Linked DNA regions of Homo sapiens: region 1 is linked to region 2. Evidence: promoter capture Hi-C in 16 types of primary human blood cells and fetal thymus (Javierre and others, 2016). All regions are on one chromosome and are shown on one strand. Each heading gives the region's core, a stretch centred on a gene start or on the middle of the fragment in contact. The rest is flanking DNA. Distances are from core to core; before and after follow the strand shown. Region 1 overlaps GLT1D1 (glycosyltransferase 1 domain containing 1). Region 2 holds the start of GLT1D1 (glycosyltransferase 1 domain containing 1).

Region 1 (6,977 bases), core at 19-2,518, 36 kb before region 2:
ATTAAATTTTTTTTTTTTTGAGACAGTGTCGCTCTGTCACCCAGGCTAGAGTGCAATGGCAACATCTTGCTTACTGCAACCAACACCTCCCGGGTTCTTTTGTTGTTGTTGCTGTTGTTTGTTTTTGAGATGGAGTCATGCTCTGTCTCCCAGGCTGGAGTGCAATGGCACGATCTCAGCTCACTGCAACCTCTGCCTCCCGAGTTCAAGCAAGTCTTCTGCCTCAGCCTCTCAAGTAGCTGGAACTACAGGCACAGGCCACCATGTCCGGCTAATTTTTGTATTTTTAGTAGAGATGGAGTTTCACCCTGTTGTCCAGGCTGGTCTCGAACTCCTGACCTCAGGTGATCCACCTGCCTCAGTCTCCCAAAATGCTGGGATTACATGTGTGAGCCACCGCACCTGGCCACCTCCTGGGTTAAAGTGATTCTTCTGCCTCAGCCTCCCAAGTAGCCGGAATTACAGGTACCCACCACCACACCCAGCTAATTTTTGTATTTTTAATAGAGATGGGGTTTCTCCGTGTTGGCCAGGCTGGTCTCGAACTCCTGACCTCAAGTGATCCACCTGCCTCAGGCCTCCCAAAGTGCTGGGATTACAGGCCTGAGTCACCGTGCCCGGCCTGATTTTATCATTATTTTAATTCTTATTATTGTTATTCGTTAGACAAAGAAATGGGAGTGATTTTTTTAATCAAGGCTTTTAATCCACTTTAAATTGCTATACAAATATGATAATTTTCTAAGTATGCCTTGTCAAAAGACACAATGACAACAAATTGAGTTCAAAGATTATAATGGGCCTTTATCAGCAATTCTAGAATTGGGCAGCACCTCATTCTACAAAACAGAATGAGTGTTCTGATGAGCTGCGCAGAGAAGGCGTGTTTTACAGACAGACAAGGGCTGAAGAAAGCAGACACAGGAAACAAAAAGCAGATGGGGCATTTCAGAGTTACTTTCCCTACAGGGTTAAAGCAGAGAAGACTTCCCTATTCTGCTGACTGAAGTTGCCTGGAATTTCTTGCCTTTTAGAAAACTGGCCCATTTCAGGCTGGGCACGGTATCTCATGCCCGTAATCCCAGCACTTTGGGAGGCCGAGGCAGGTGGATCGCTTGAGGCCAGGAGTTTGAGACCAGCCTGGCAAAATGGTGAAACCCCGTCTCTACTAAAAATACAAAAATTAGCCGACTGTGGTGGCAGGCGCCCATAATCCCAGTTACTCGGGAGCCTGAGGCACAAGAATCGCCTGAACCCGGGAGGCTGAGGTTGCAGTGAGCCAAGATCGCGCCATTGCGCTCCAGCCTGGGCAACGGAATGAGACTCTGTCAGGAAAAGAGAAGAGAAGAGAGAAAGAAGGCTGACCCATTTCAAAGTTCAGTTTGATTACATAGCGCTCAGCACAAGTGACTCCTTTCTGTCTTGGGCTAGTCCGCTGGGGGACAGTGCGGGGGCTGGTCCAGAACAACAGCCTCCGATGAACCTCCTTTCACCGTATTGACATGGAAAAGTTGGGAAGTACAGCGCTGGAAGGAATTCTCAACTGGGGATAATAACTTCCCCCACCCTGGGGGCATTAGAATTATAGGGAGACATACTAAGGTAGTTGTGGTACCTGGAGGCTGCTGCCCATGATCAGTATCTGGGATCAGAGACGTGCAGGGCAGCCCCCAGGATTATCACAGTGACCCCTGTAAGAAGCCCCACTTAGAGCATGTAGAGCTGTTCTCACAGCAGCTACCTCTCAGGTCCCTGGGACAGCTAGAGGGCCATACCCAAGGAAAAGGCCTAAGCCACAGTTTAGAAATCCTGTTGGTGACCCTTCTTGCAAATGGCATATATAGCTCAGAAAGCTACATAGATAAGACCCATGCCAAAGATAGTCTACTTGGGCAAACCTGATGCAAACTAGATCCTAATTTGTGTGCTGCTAAGGCTGGAGTTTGCCTGTGATTCGTGTTTTCTACATCCAGAACACTTGTTTTTTTGAAAAGAGGGCTTTGCTCTACCACTCAGGCTGGATTGCAACCATAGCACACTGTAGCCTTGGGCTCCTGGGCTCCAGCAATCCTCCTGCCTCAGCCTCCCAAGCAGCTGGGACCACAGGCGTGCCTCACTATGCCTGGCTCCATGCAGACCATTCTAAAGAGGCTTATCTAATATTAACTGTAGTTGAAGACTTAAGTGCAATAACCTGTTAGCAATGACTATTTGTGGCCAAATAAAAATGTACCAAATGAAAGAAAAGGTTACATGAAATTGGTTTTAAGTGCTAAGATGTAAACCTTCCCGGCAATTGGTGCCCTCGGTCTTTGGTTTCAATTAATTCAATTCACACAGTTTAAATGTTTGGCATGGATGAAATTCTCGCAGGTATTACCTGGCTTCCTCAAGAACTCTGCCCATGACTGTGTTTTTTTCCGCCTGGTTGGCATCTTCATTTACATCAGTTCCACCAAAGATGACTCCAAAAGGGATTCGGTGGCCTGCAAAACGATGACAGTCACAAAGCAGAATTTAGCCCTAAAAACAGCCTTCACCAACCATTCCCAAGCAAGGATCTTAAACACTGAAGTTCCCAGATCGCCGGAGCTGTTTGTTGCTGTACATTTAGCTGCATCCACCTCTCCTGGATAGCAGAATAGGTATCACTACAATAAACACAACACCAAGAGGAATCACGGGAGGCCCCAACCACTGTCGTCAGGGCTATCTTTCAATTAATTCATTTTAAACTTTAGCAAATAAAAAATATTGTTAGCCTCATCTATCAATCAAAGCCAAGCTTATCATTCCTAGGAAATGGGCTAATCTGCCATCATCAAAATTCATGACAAAAAAAGGGCTCTCCAAACTGAGTCCTATTGTTCATCAACACCAACAGGCACCGTGCTAGCTTGGGACAACAACAGGGGAGAGAGAGGTACAGACAACCTTGATAATATCCTCAAGAACTGTTCAGTACAGCAGGGGTGATAAATTATGACAGGCTCAACTAGGATAAGGGCCAAAATAACACAAGATGCTGAGCGCATAAAGTGGGAAAGAATTTGCAAAGGGAGTATGTATATTCCGAGTGACGCGTCCTGTGCGGATGGGAGGCAGTGTGTGAGTCCACTCCCTGCTTCCTTGATGAACATTTCATGAGCGCAGATGGGCAGGACAGGGCATTAGCCCTGCCCATCTCAGGCTGAATGATGTGCTTATCAAAAGCGACTCCCCGAAAGGACTCCCAAAGGTCACCTAAAAATTTCAGAGAGACTATGGCCTACAAATCACCCAACAGACCAGATCTAACTGGAGTTCACCCAGTTAGATTTCTCAAACAAGCTATTTCTATCAAGATATTTAAAGGAGAAGATACTGATCTTTCCTTTTACTGGCCTTTGAATTGTTTTTGTCATGTAAATTAGCAGATCTCATCTTCTTTCTCTCTATCTAGGTCACTCTCACCCTAGAATTCCACTGCTATGAATTCAGCCTCCAGATATTAAGCTCAACAATAATACACATGGCTCCAGCAAGGCTGCTAAAAGTAGCACAGTTTGAGAAGCAACTTACTTGTGCATTGGTGAAGACCAACTCTTTTTTTTTGGAGCTCTGTGTGTGTGTGTGTGTGTGTGTGTGTGTACTCACATAGAAAGACTGGCCAAAAAAAAAACGCATATTGGTGAACAAAAGATGCTTGCACAAAAACAAAAGCCATAAACACACATTTCTATATGCACAGAGCATCTGTGATAGTACACAAAATAATAACTGTTGTCACCTCTGGGAAAGAGACCTGGAAGACTACAGATCTGGGATGGGCCAGGTGCGGTGGCTCACACCTGTAATGCCAGCACTTTGGAAGGCCAAGGAGGGCAGATCACCTGAGGCCGGGAGTTTGAGATCAGCCTGGGCAACACGGCAAAATTCTGTCTCTATTTTTGTAAAAATACGAAAATTAGCCAGGTGTGGTGGGGCACACCTGTAATCCGACCTACTCCGAAGGCTGAGGCATGAGAATCACTTGAACCCGGGAGGCAGAGGTTGGAGTGAGCTGAGATCACGCCACCGCACTGCAGCCTGGGTGATAGAGCGAGACTCCGCCTCAAAAAAAAAAAAAAATCTGGGTTGGGAGTGAGACTTACTTTTCACTCTGTAACATTTTATATTGTTTGAATTTCTTACTACAGACCTGTAAGAACTTTTCCAAAAACACAGAGAGACATAGAAACGCCCGCCCAGTAGAGGTGGTTCACCAGGGGTTTAGGCTTTGGGAGATGTTGAGACAGAGTGAAGATTTTTCTCATATGGTAAGGACATGAATCTGTGGTAGGGAGAATAATTGCTCCCAGAGATGTCCACATCCTAATTCCCAGGACCCATGAGGCTGGGACAGGGGAGGGGTATTACGGTAGACTATCGAGGCAGGCTCAACATAACCACAGGGGTCGTTACAAGTGGAAGAGGGAGGCCAGAGAATCAAGTTCAGAGTGAGGAAGACCTCACCAGCCTGATGGCTCTGGACATGGAGGAAGGGCCATGAGCCAAGACATGTGGATGCCCCTCAAGGCTGGAAAAGACAAGAAAACAGATTCTCCCCAAGAGCCTCCAGGAAGAAGCGCAGCTGCTGACACCTGAATTTCAGCCTGGGAGATCCGCTTCAGCTTTCCAACCTCCAGAACAGGCTCCCCTGTCACCGCCTCAGGGGTCTTGGGAAGTAGGATGTGGACATCTCTGGGAGCAATTATTCTCCAGAACTGGAGGTCAGGTGATGAATTTGTGTTGTCTGAAGCCACTGGGTTTGTGGTAAATTATTACAGCAGCAGTGGGAAACTGATACACCCTATTGCCACAAAGGGACTGTATTAGTCCATTTTCAAGCTGTTGATAACGACATACCCAACTGGCATGGCAATTGGATATGTCTGGGCAATTTACAAAAGAAAGAGGTTTAATGGACTCACAGTTCCATGTGGCTGGGGAGACCTCCCAATCATGGCAAAAGGTGAAAGGCACATCTCACATGGTAGCAGACAAGAGAAGACAGCGTGTGCAGGGAAACTCCCCTTTATAAAACCATCAGATCATGAGAGACTTATTCACTGTCATGAGAACAGCACAGGAAAGGCCCACCTCCATGATTCAATTACTTCCCACCAGGTCCTTCCCACAACACACGGGAATTGTGGGAGCTATAATTCAAGAAGAGATTTGGATGGGGACACAGCCAAACCATATCTGGGATATTCCCCCAATAAAAACTGCTACTAAAGGAGGCTAAGTAAAACAGTGGGAGAGTCGTTTTCAGTGAAATTCCCAAAGACAGAAAAATAGACACCTAAAAGATACACACTATCAACGAGGTTGTTTAAAAGGTGTGAACATATTTAGTACTTAAGATGACAGCCCTTTCTTACTCAATCAGACCAGCAGCAATAACTCATATATGTCAAAGCTAATTTGACCTATCTGGAGAAATCACAGGACTTTCACTCCAGACAGCCCCAGGTTAGAATTCTGCTTCTCCGCCTAGAACAGGCATGCCTTTGGCCAAGCTACTCAGTGACTGTAGTAAATAACAATGTATTGTACACTTGAAAATTGCTAAGAGAGGGGCCAGGCATGGTGGCTCATACCTGTAATCTCAGCACTTTGGAAGGCCGAGGCGGGTGGATCACTTGAGGTATGGAGTTTGAGACCAGCCTGGCTAACATGGTGAAACCCCATCTCTACTAAAAATACAAAAATTAGCTGGGTGTGGTAGCACATGCCTTTAATCCCAGCTACTCGGGAGGCTGAGGCAGGAGAATCGCTTGAACCTGGAAGGCAGAGGTTGCAGTGAGCCAAGATTGTGCCACTGCACTCCAGCCTGGGCGAAAGAGTCTCGACTCTGTCTCAAAAAAATAAGACTTATAAATTCACCCATGATTACAATTGAAAAATTCTGGAAGTCCTCTGCTATAACATGATGTAGATAAAATATTTTTGCAAACTCTCTTTTTATTATTGTATATATATATGGTGTACAACATGATGTTTTAAAATATGTATACATTGTGGAATAGCTAAATCAAGCTAATTAGGCCAAGCACAGTAGCTCACACCTGTCATCTCAGCACTTTGGGAGGCCAAGGCAGGAGGATTGCTCCACCCCAGGAGTTTGAGACCAGCCTGGGAAACACAGCAAGATCCCATTTCTTAAAAAAAAAAAAAAAAAAATCAAGCTAATTAATATATGTATTACCTCACATATTTATCATTTATTTGGTGATGAGAACACTTAAAACCTACTACTGTCTTAGCAATTTTTTTTTCTATTTTTTGAGACAGAGTCTCACTTGGTCACCCAGGCTAGAGTGCAGCGGTGCTATCTTGGCTCACTCCAGCCTCCGCATCCCAGGTTCAAGTGATGCTCCTGCCTCAGCCTCCCAAGTAGCTGGGATTACAGGCAGTGCCACCATGCCCAGCTAATTTTTATATTTTTAACAGAGACAGGGTTTCACTATGTTGGCCAGGCAGCTCTCGAACTCGTGACCTCAAGTGATCCACCCGCCTCAGCCTTCCAAAGTGCTGGGATTACAGGTATGAGCCACCATGCCTGGCCCCTCTCTTAGCAATTTTCAAGTATACAATACATTGTTATTCACTACAGTCACCATGCTGTACAATAAATCTTGAATGTATTCCTCCTAGCTGAAATTTTGTGCTTTTTGACCAACGTTTCCCTAATCTCCTCACAATCCTGAGCACCTGGTAACCATCCTACTACTCTCTGCTTCTATGAATTTGACTTTCTGGATTTCACATACAAGTGAGAACCATGTGGTATTTGTATTTCTGTGACTGGCTTATTGTATTTCGCATTATGTCCTCCAGGCTCATCCATGTTGTTACAAACGACAGAATATCCTTCGTTTTCCATTACATATATATATACCCCATTTTCTGTATCCATTTAACATCAATGGGCACAGGTTGATTCCCCGTCC
Region 2 (7,350 bases), core at 402-2,901:
TTCTCCTGCCTCAGCCTCCTAGTTTTGCTTTCTTAATAGCACTAATCCCTATGTGAAATCACCTCCTTCATTCCTCTCCCATACTGGGATGCTGGTTCATCCAACAGAGCCAGGAACACAAAGGGCTCCTCACTGCTAAACCCAAGCAGAGCATCACTGACCTATTTAATAGAAACCTGCACCATGAAACCTGAGTGTAAATTTTCCAGCAAATTTCAGAAAACTGATGGATCCTCTCTTGGTCATTTCTGCTTATGATCTTTAGGAGAAATTAGCTGAAAGGGACATGAAAGTGTTGGTGGAGTCTCAATTGCTCATTTTAATGATGAGGAGGCCGGGCACAGTGGCTCATACCTGTAAACCCAGCACTGTGGGAGGCCGAGGCAGGCGGATCACCTGAGGGCAGGAGTTCGAGACCAACCTGGCCAACATGGTGAAACCCTGTCTCTATTAAAAATACAAAAATCAGCCGGGCGTGGTGGTGCACACCTGTAATCCCAACTACTTGGGAGGCTGAGGCAGGAGAATGCTTGAATCCAGGAGGCGGAGGTTGCAGTGAGCCCAGATTGCGCCACTGCACTCCAGCCTGGGTGACACAGCGAGACTCCATTTCAAAAAAATAAATTGATGGGGAAACAGGCCCACAGAAGGGAAGTAAATCGGGAAATTTCATGAAGCAAGTCCGCTTTTACACACACACACACACACACACACACACACACACACACACACACGGCTTCTGTTAAGCTGCAGGCTCTAATCCTGGCACTTCCCAGGCTTCGCCTCAAGGAATATGTTTATCCGGCTAATACAGGCCGAGCGCCCGCTGTGCGGGTGGGAGGCGGCGGGATTAACGCGGCGGCCCCTCCCCGGGCCCCCGCCGGGCTTGCGTTCCAGCGACCAGAACACAGACCAACAAGTAAACAAATAAGACAAAGGCAGAAAAAGATGAGTGTGAAGGAGCTAACCAGCCAGGAAGACGAGAATAGACAGGGCAGAGGGGAGGTGGGAAAGGGACTTCGGGGACAGGACCCCGGACGCCGGCACACAGCCGAGACCCGATCCGCGAGGGCAGGGCTGGCACCGCGGTCCCCGGCCTGGAAACGCGCCCCCGCCGGGAGCTCCGCGGACCCCGCTGCGCATCCCTGCGGATCCTGCTCCCATCCTGCTTCTGCAGCGAGGCCTTCCCGGGCCCCTCCACGACAGGCTCCGGGCCTGTTCACCTGCTCAGTCCCCTCCGGAGAGCGCGAGGCCAATGCGCCGGCCGCACGGAGACCCGGGGACACGCGCGCCACGCAGAAGGCACCGACCCCCGCGCGCCCGGCAGGCGGCACCGGCCCATCCGTTTGTGCGCGCGGCTCGGGACGGCCCCGGCGCGGCTGGAGGGGGCCTGGCTGAGCGCCCCGCGTCCCCGGGTCCCGCGTCCCCGCCCCCCGGCCCCCGGCCCAGGCTTCGTAGGCCCCGGCGCCCTGCACCTACCGAACGCGCTGGGCCGTGACCGCGTTGCCGGTGTGTGGCCGCAGCACCGCCAGGAACAGGAGCCGCATGCCGCCGCCGCCGCCCGGGCCATCGACCGGCCCCGCCGCCGCCGACCAGGCCCCGGGGCCGGCGCAGACGCGGACGGCGGGGGAGCCGGGGCGGCTGGGTCTGTCCCGCCCGCCCCTCCCCGAGGCCGCGCCCCAGCTCGCAGGTTCCGGCGCCAGGCGGGGAGGGGGACAGGAACCGGGGGCCTCGGGCGGCGCGAGCCCTGGGTGCGGGGTGGCGCGGGTGTGCCCCGTGGGGTCCATCACCAGGGTAGCCGCGGTCTGTTTCCACCTGGACCAGGACCAGCGGTGACCACAGTCCCTTCCACGGGGACCAGGACCATCGGTGACCACAGTCCCTCACACGGGGACCAGGACCAGCGGTGACCACAGTCCCTCCCAAGAGGACTAGGACCAGCAGTGACCACGTTCCCTTCCACAGGGAACAGGCAGCGGTGACCACAGACCATTCTCACGGGGACCAGGACCAGCGGTGACCACAGTCCCTCCCAAGGGGACCAGGACCAGCGGTGACCACAGTCCCTTCCCACAGTGACCAGGACCAGGGGCGGCCTTGGTCCTTTCCCACAGGGAACAGGAGCAGGGGTGGCCATGGTCCGCTCCCATGGAAACCAGTGATGGCTTCCATGGGCTTCATTGGGAAATCAGGGCTTCACGGAACACCGGGTTGGCTGCAGGTCTGTGCCCACCGGGACCAGCAGAGACCTCGGGTTCCGTCCCACAGGGTGCTGCAGAGAGGGGCTCTCAGCCTCATTTTCCATGACAACCTGAGTGGGGCCTTGGTCCGCACGAAGCCCAGGATTCCTTTCTAGTCCCATTCCAGGGAACGTGGCATGATCAGTCCCAAATTCCTTCCCAGGCTAGACTACCCTAAAACTAACCCGAGGAGGGGAACATGGGGACTGTGTGAGGAGACAGTAGAAACCCATTTCAGGGCCGCACCTGTCGGGTGAGAAAGATGTTGGAGAGGGGAACCTGGGGTTCATCAGGGTACATGGGCTGCACCTGGTCTGGATCTCCAAACTAGGATACCTTGAGTGAGAGAAATAGGGAACTGAAGGAGGCCTCTGGCAAAATGCCATCTGTGGATTTAAACAAGCACTCCCCAAAACAGCTGTTAAGTGTTTACAAAGATGCACATGTATTTACAGATGTGGGACATTCTAGTGGGTGCCCAATATTTCCATTGACCTTCAAACTTGATTTTCTGTCATCCCCTAAATACCTTCCAGCCTCAAAAAGGTAAAGTGGGAATGAAGAAAGCCATGACATGGGATAACCACCGTCAGTGGCAGGTCTCCGGCCTCCCTACGCAGCATGGTGACCCCCAGGCTTATCAAGATATAAAAGTCCATCCTGGAGGGCACATTCGGCTCCGCAGGCTTCTCCCAGGTACGTCCACCACTCTGCCTCTCAGTGTGGCATGGAGTAGGGAAGAGTTGTATATCATTGTAGAACAATCAAAATCCTGTCCTCCTCTCACTCTCAAAAAAACACCCAGGATTTTGCTCTTCTTCCTGGTATTTCAGCTTCCCAGGCACCAGGCAGGCAGGCCACATCCTTTTTAAAGGACAAAAGCGATCTGAAAATATTATCATTCTGCTAAACAACTTAATACTTTCCAACAGAATTACATAAGCAAACAGGAAAGGGGACAAGTTGCACAGAGCTGTCACAACCCCCTTCTAACGACATTTTAGAAAAAGAGTTTTGACCCCGGGCACGGCGGCTGACTCCTATAATTCCAGCACTTTGGGAGGCCGAGGTGGGTGGATCACTTGAGGCCAGGAGTTCAAGACCAGTCTGGCCAACATGGCAAAACCCCGTCTCTACCAAAAATAGAAAAATAGATGGGCATGGTGGTACAAGCCTGTAGTCCTAGGTACTTGGGAGGCTGAGGCATGAGAATCATTTGAACCCAGGAGGCGGAGGTTGCAGTGAGCCGCGATCATGCCACTGCGCTCCAGCCTAGGCAGTAAAGCAAGACTCAGTGTTAAATAAATAAATAAGTTTTGAGTGGACTCCTGATATATTTGCTACACACCAAGAAGAGGCAATAAAACGCAGTGTCTGGTGTGGTATACAGAAGTAGAGGGGGGCACTTGCCCATGATCTTCCCCTATTTCACCTTGCCCATGGGATATTAAAAGCTAAATGTGAACAGATACATTTCTGATTTTACAAAGGCGACTTCAGCATGAGCCCAGAAAGGAACCTCCCTAAGGAGAGTTGAACTGGCAGCCTTGTGGGCTCAATATCATCCTTAGATGTATTTAGGCTACACCGTGTTTTTCATAAAAGCTGAGCTATTATTTTTTGTTTGTTTTGAGACAGTGTCACTCTGTCATCCAGGCTGGGGGTGCCGTGGTGTGATTATGGATCACTCCAGCTTCCACCTCCTGGGCTCAAGTGATCCTCCCATCTCAGCCTTCCAAAAAAGTAGCTGGAACCATAGATGTGCACCACCATGCTGGGCTAATTTTTTGTATTTTTTGTAGAAGTGGGGTCTCACTATGTTGTCCAGGCTGGTCTTGAGCTCCTGGGCTCAAGCAGTCAACTCACCTCAGCCTCCCAGAGTACTGGAATTACAGGCGTGAGCCACTATACCTGGCCAAGCCACCATTTTTTAATTGGGAGCTTTCATATAGAAGTTGGAATTTCTGATATCTGTTAAAAAATGAGAGATCTGATTAAATGAAGCCACCATCCTGTGGCTGACTGAAGCTGGGAAGCAGCTGCCTGCTTAAGATGAAATCTGAATGTGCCATTTCACACAGTGCTTGAAGGCTCACTTCAATTCCTTGATAACCTCGATCTGTATTCTTGTGTTTAGAAAAAATTTGAAGTTTATTTTTACGTAAATTAAGTTCAGAAGAAGGTGGCCCAAGCCTAATATAGTGGCTGTACCATCACCAGGAACCCAGACTTTCCTCTGTCTACTCCATCATGCTAGTGTTTAGCTTCTAGTCTCAAGATCACCTTATCAAGGAATTGATAAGGAGTAGGACTGCTACAGCTCCACCCATCACATCAACATTCCAGGCAGCAGGAAGGAAGGAAAGGCAAAAGTGGTGCACTCCAGATGGTGTATTTTATTTTAAAGTGTCTTCCTAAAAATGCAAACAGCCCTATGCCTTTATTGTGTTGGCCACGTGGCCATTTCTTGCATCCAAGGAGGCTAAGACATGCGGTCTATTAACTGGGTACACTGCCACCTAAATACAATCGTGGTTACTAAAGAAAAGTGGCAGAATAGGTTTGCAGTAAGTCACCTCTGCCATAGCAATCTAAATTAATAGATTAAAAGAGGAAATGGCAGAGGCATTTGAATCAGAGCAACTCCCTCTTGAATAGGGGCTGGGTAAAATGAGGCTGAGACCCGCTGGGCTGCCTCCCAGGAGGTTAAGGCATTCTAAGTGACAGGATGAGATAGGAGGTCGGTACAAGATACAGGCCACAAAGATCTTGCTGATAAAACAGTTTGCAGTAAAGAAGCCGGCCAAAACCCACCAAAACCAAGATGGCAATGAAAGTGACCTCTGGTTGTCCTCAACTGCTACACTCTCACTAGCGCCATGACAGTTTAGGAATGCCATGGCAACGTCAGGAAGTTACCCTATATGGTCTAAACAGGGGAGGCATGAATAATCCACCCCTTGTTTAGCATATCATCAAGAAATCACCATAAAAATGGGCAACCAGCAGCCCTCGGGCTGCTCTGTCTATGGAATAGCCATTCTTTATTCCTTTACTTTCTTAATAAACTTGCTTTCCCTTTACTGTATGGACTCGCCCTGAATTCTTTCTTGTGTGAGATCCAAGAACCTTCTCTTGGGGTCTGAAATAGGACCCCTTTCCGGTAACAGAAATACATATGACCCTCTCAATGGGTGGAATAAGAACATTCAGTAGGATTCAACACTCATTCTTGATGATACAAAAGAAGTAATAAAAGTAAGAAGAAAGAAAGGAACAAAGGAAGGAAGGAGGGATGGGGAGGGAGGCAGGGATGAAAGGAAGGAAGGAATTCAGTAATATAAGAAACTACGAAGAACTTTAAAAACTCTGTTTTTTAAAATCTTGCAGGTAAAAATTGCCTGACTCTGTGATTATCTCTTTTCTAGTCTCTCTACAGCTTATGAGTGGTTGAACCAGATTCAGAACTGCTCTCCAGAGGACTTTTGGAAATTTGGGGATGGAGAAGGAAATTTGTTGTCAGAATGATTAAGGAATGTCGTCAATATTTCACAACTAGGCCCAGAAGTTTTAACACCTTGCAACGTATAGGACATCCCTGCCTAAAGAAAAAATGCTTTTCCCCAAATGCCAGTAGATACCTGTATTAGTCAGGGTTCTCCAAGGAAACAGAACTAATGGGAAATTCATATTCGTAAATGGAGATTTATTATGAGGCATTGGCTCATGTAATCATGAAGGCTGAGAAGAACCCTGATCTGCTGTCTGCCATACGGAGAACCAGGAAAGCTGGTGGTGTAATTCAGTTCCAGTCTGAAGGCCTGAGCAATGGTGTAAATCCCAGTTTGAGGGAGGAGGGGGAATGGTGGGGGTGGTTGCTGAGAAGATGACATGAAATGTGCCCGCTCAAGCAGTGAGGCAGTGGGGAAAATGGAGGGGGGTGGGGAAGGGGGGGCAAATTCCTCTTTCCTCCTCCTTTTTTTCTTGAGAACAGGGTCTTACTCTGTCCCCCAGGTTGGAGTGCAGTGGTAGGATCTCCGCTCACTGCAAACTCCGCCTCCTGGGTTCAAGCAATTCTCTTGCCTCAGCCTCCTGAGTAGCTGGGATAACAGGCACACACCACTATACCCAGATAATTTTTCATTTTTAGTAGACACGGGGCTTCGCCATTTTGGCCAGGGCAGTCTCGAACTCCTGACCTCAAGTGATCCGCAGACCCTCCTCGCCTCCCAAGTGCTGGGATTACAGGCGTGAGCCACCGCACCCAGCCTCCTCCACCTTTTTCGCTCTACTCAGACCTTCAACAGATTGGATGAAGCCCAGCCACACCGGGGAGCGCACTTGCTCAACTCAGTTCACGGACGCAAATCTCATCTGGAAACACCTGCCCAGGTCCACCTTGAAACTACGTCCAATGTGGGCCCCTGATATGGGTTTGGATCTGTGTCCTCGCCCAAATCTCATGTGAAATTGTAGCCCCCAGTGTTGGAGGTGGGGCCTGGTGGGAGGTGGCTGGATCATGGGGGTGGATTTCTCATGAGTGGTTTAGTGCCATCCCCTTCGTTCTGTCTTCATGAGAGTAAGCAAGTTCTCACCAGCTCTGGTAGTTTACAAGTGTGAACTCGCCGCACTCTCTTGCTCCTGCTCCCACCATGTGAGACGCCTCACTGCCCATCTGCCTTCTGCCATGATTGGAAGCTTCCTGAGGCCTCCCCAGAAGCAGAAGCTGCAGTGCTTCCTGTACAGCCTGCAGAATCGCAAGCCAATTCAACCTCTTTTCTTTAAAAACTACCCAGTCTTAGGTATTTTTTTTCTTTTCTTTTTTTTTTTTTTCCTTTTGAGACAAGATCTCACTCAGATGCCCAGGCTGGAATGCAGTGGTACAGTCTCAGCTCACTGCAACCTCCACCTCCTGGGTTCAAGCGATTCTCCTGCCTCAGCGTCCTGAGTAGCTGTGCCACCATGCCCTGCTAATTTTTGTATTTTTAGTAGAGATCACATTTCACTGTGTTGGCCAGGCTGGTCTCGAACTCCCGCCTCAGCCTCCCAAAGTGCTGAGATTACAGGCGTGAGCCACGGCACACAGCTTTCAGGTATTTCTGGTTTTTTT

Evidence for each region. Contacts are between HindIII fragments. The CHiCAGO score rates a contact against its expected background, and 5 or more counts as called.
Region 1: a contact is called between a fragment that was not itself captured here and the fragment with the promoter of GLT1D1 in region 2, in 1 of 17 cell types (neutrophils). The highest score is 6.2, in neutrophils.

Annotation. Positions count from the first base shown.
Region 1 is chr12:128,884,148-128,891,124 of GRCh38, reverse strand. It overlaps GLT1D1 (glycosyltransferase 1 domain containing 1), which reads right to left. Exons shown (of 12, transcript NM_001366886.1): 3 at 2,381-2,486. Among named protein-coding and RNA genes, the nearest start is that of GLT1D1, 34 kb to the right of the region's middle. The HindIII fragment of the contact is 3,039 bases long and covers 1-2,787 here.
Region 2 is chr12:128,847,779-128,855,128 of GRCh38, reverse strand. It overlaps GLT1D1 (glycosyltransferase 1 domain containing 1), which reads right to left and starts at 1,651. Exons shown (of 12, transcript NM_001366886.1): 1 at 1,480-1,651. The coding sequence starts at 1,547. It overlaps LOC100128276 (a long non-coding RNA gene), which reads left to right and starts at 2,034. Exons shown (of 3, transcript NR_148996.1): 1 at 2,034-2,053; 2 at 2,777-2,936; 3 at 5,669-5,958. It also overlaps the pseudogene LOC124903089. RefSeq lists an enhancer at 670-1,321 and silencers at 1,183-1,382, 1,573-1,672. The HindIII fragment of the contact is 7,589 bases long and covers 1-6,940 here.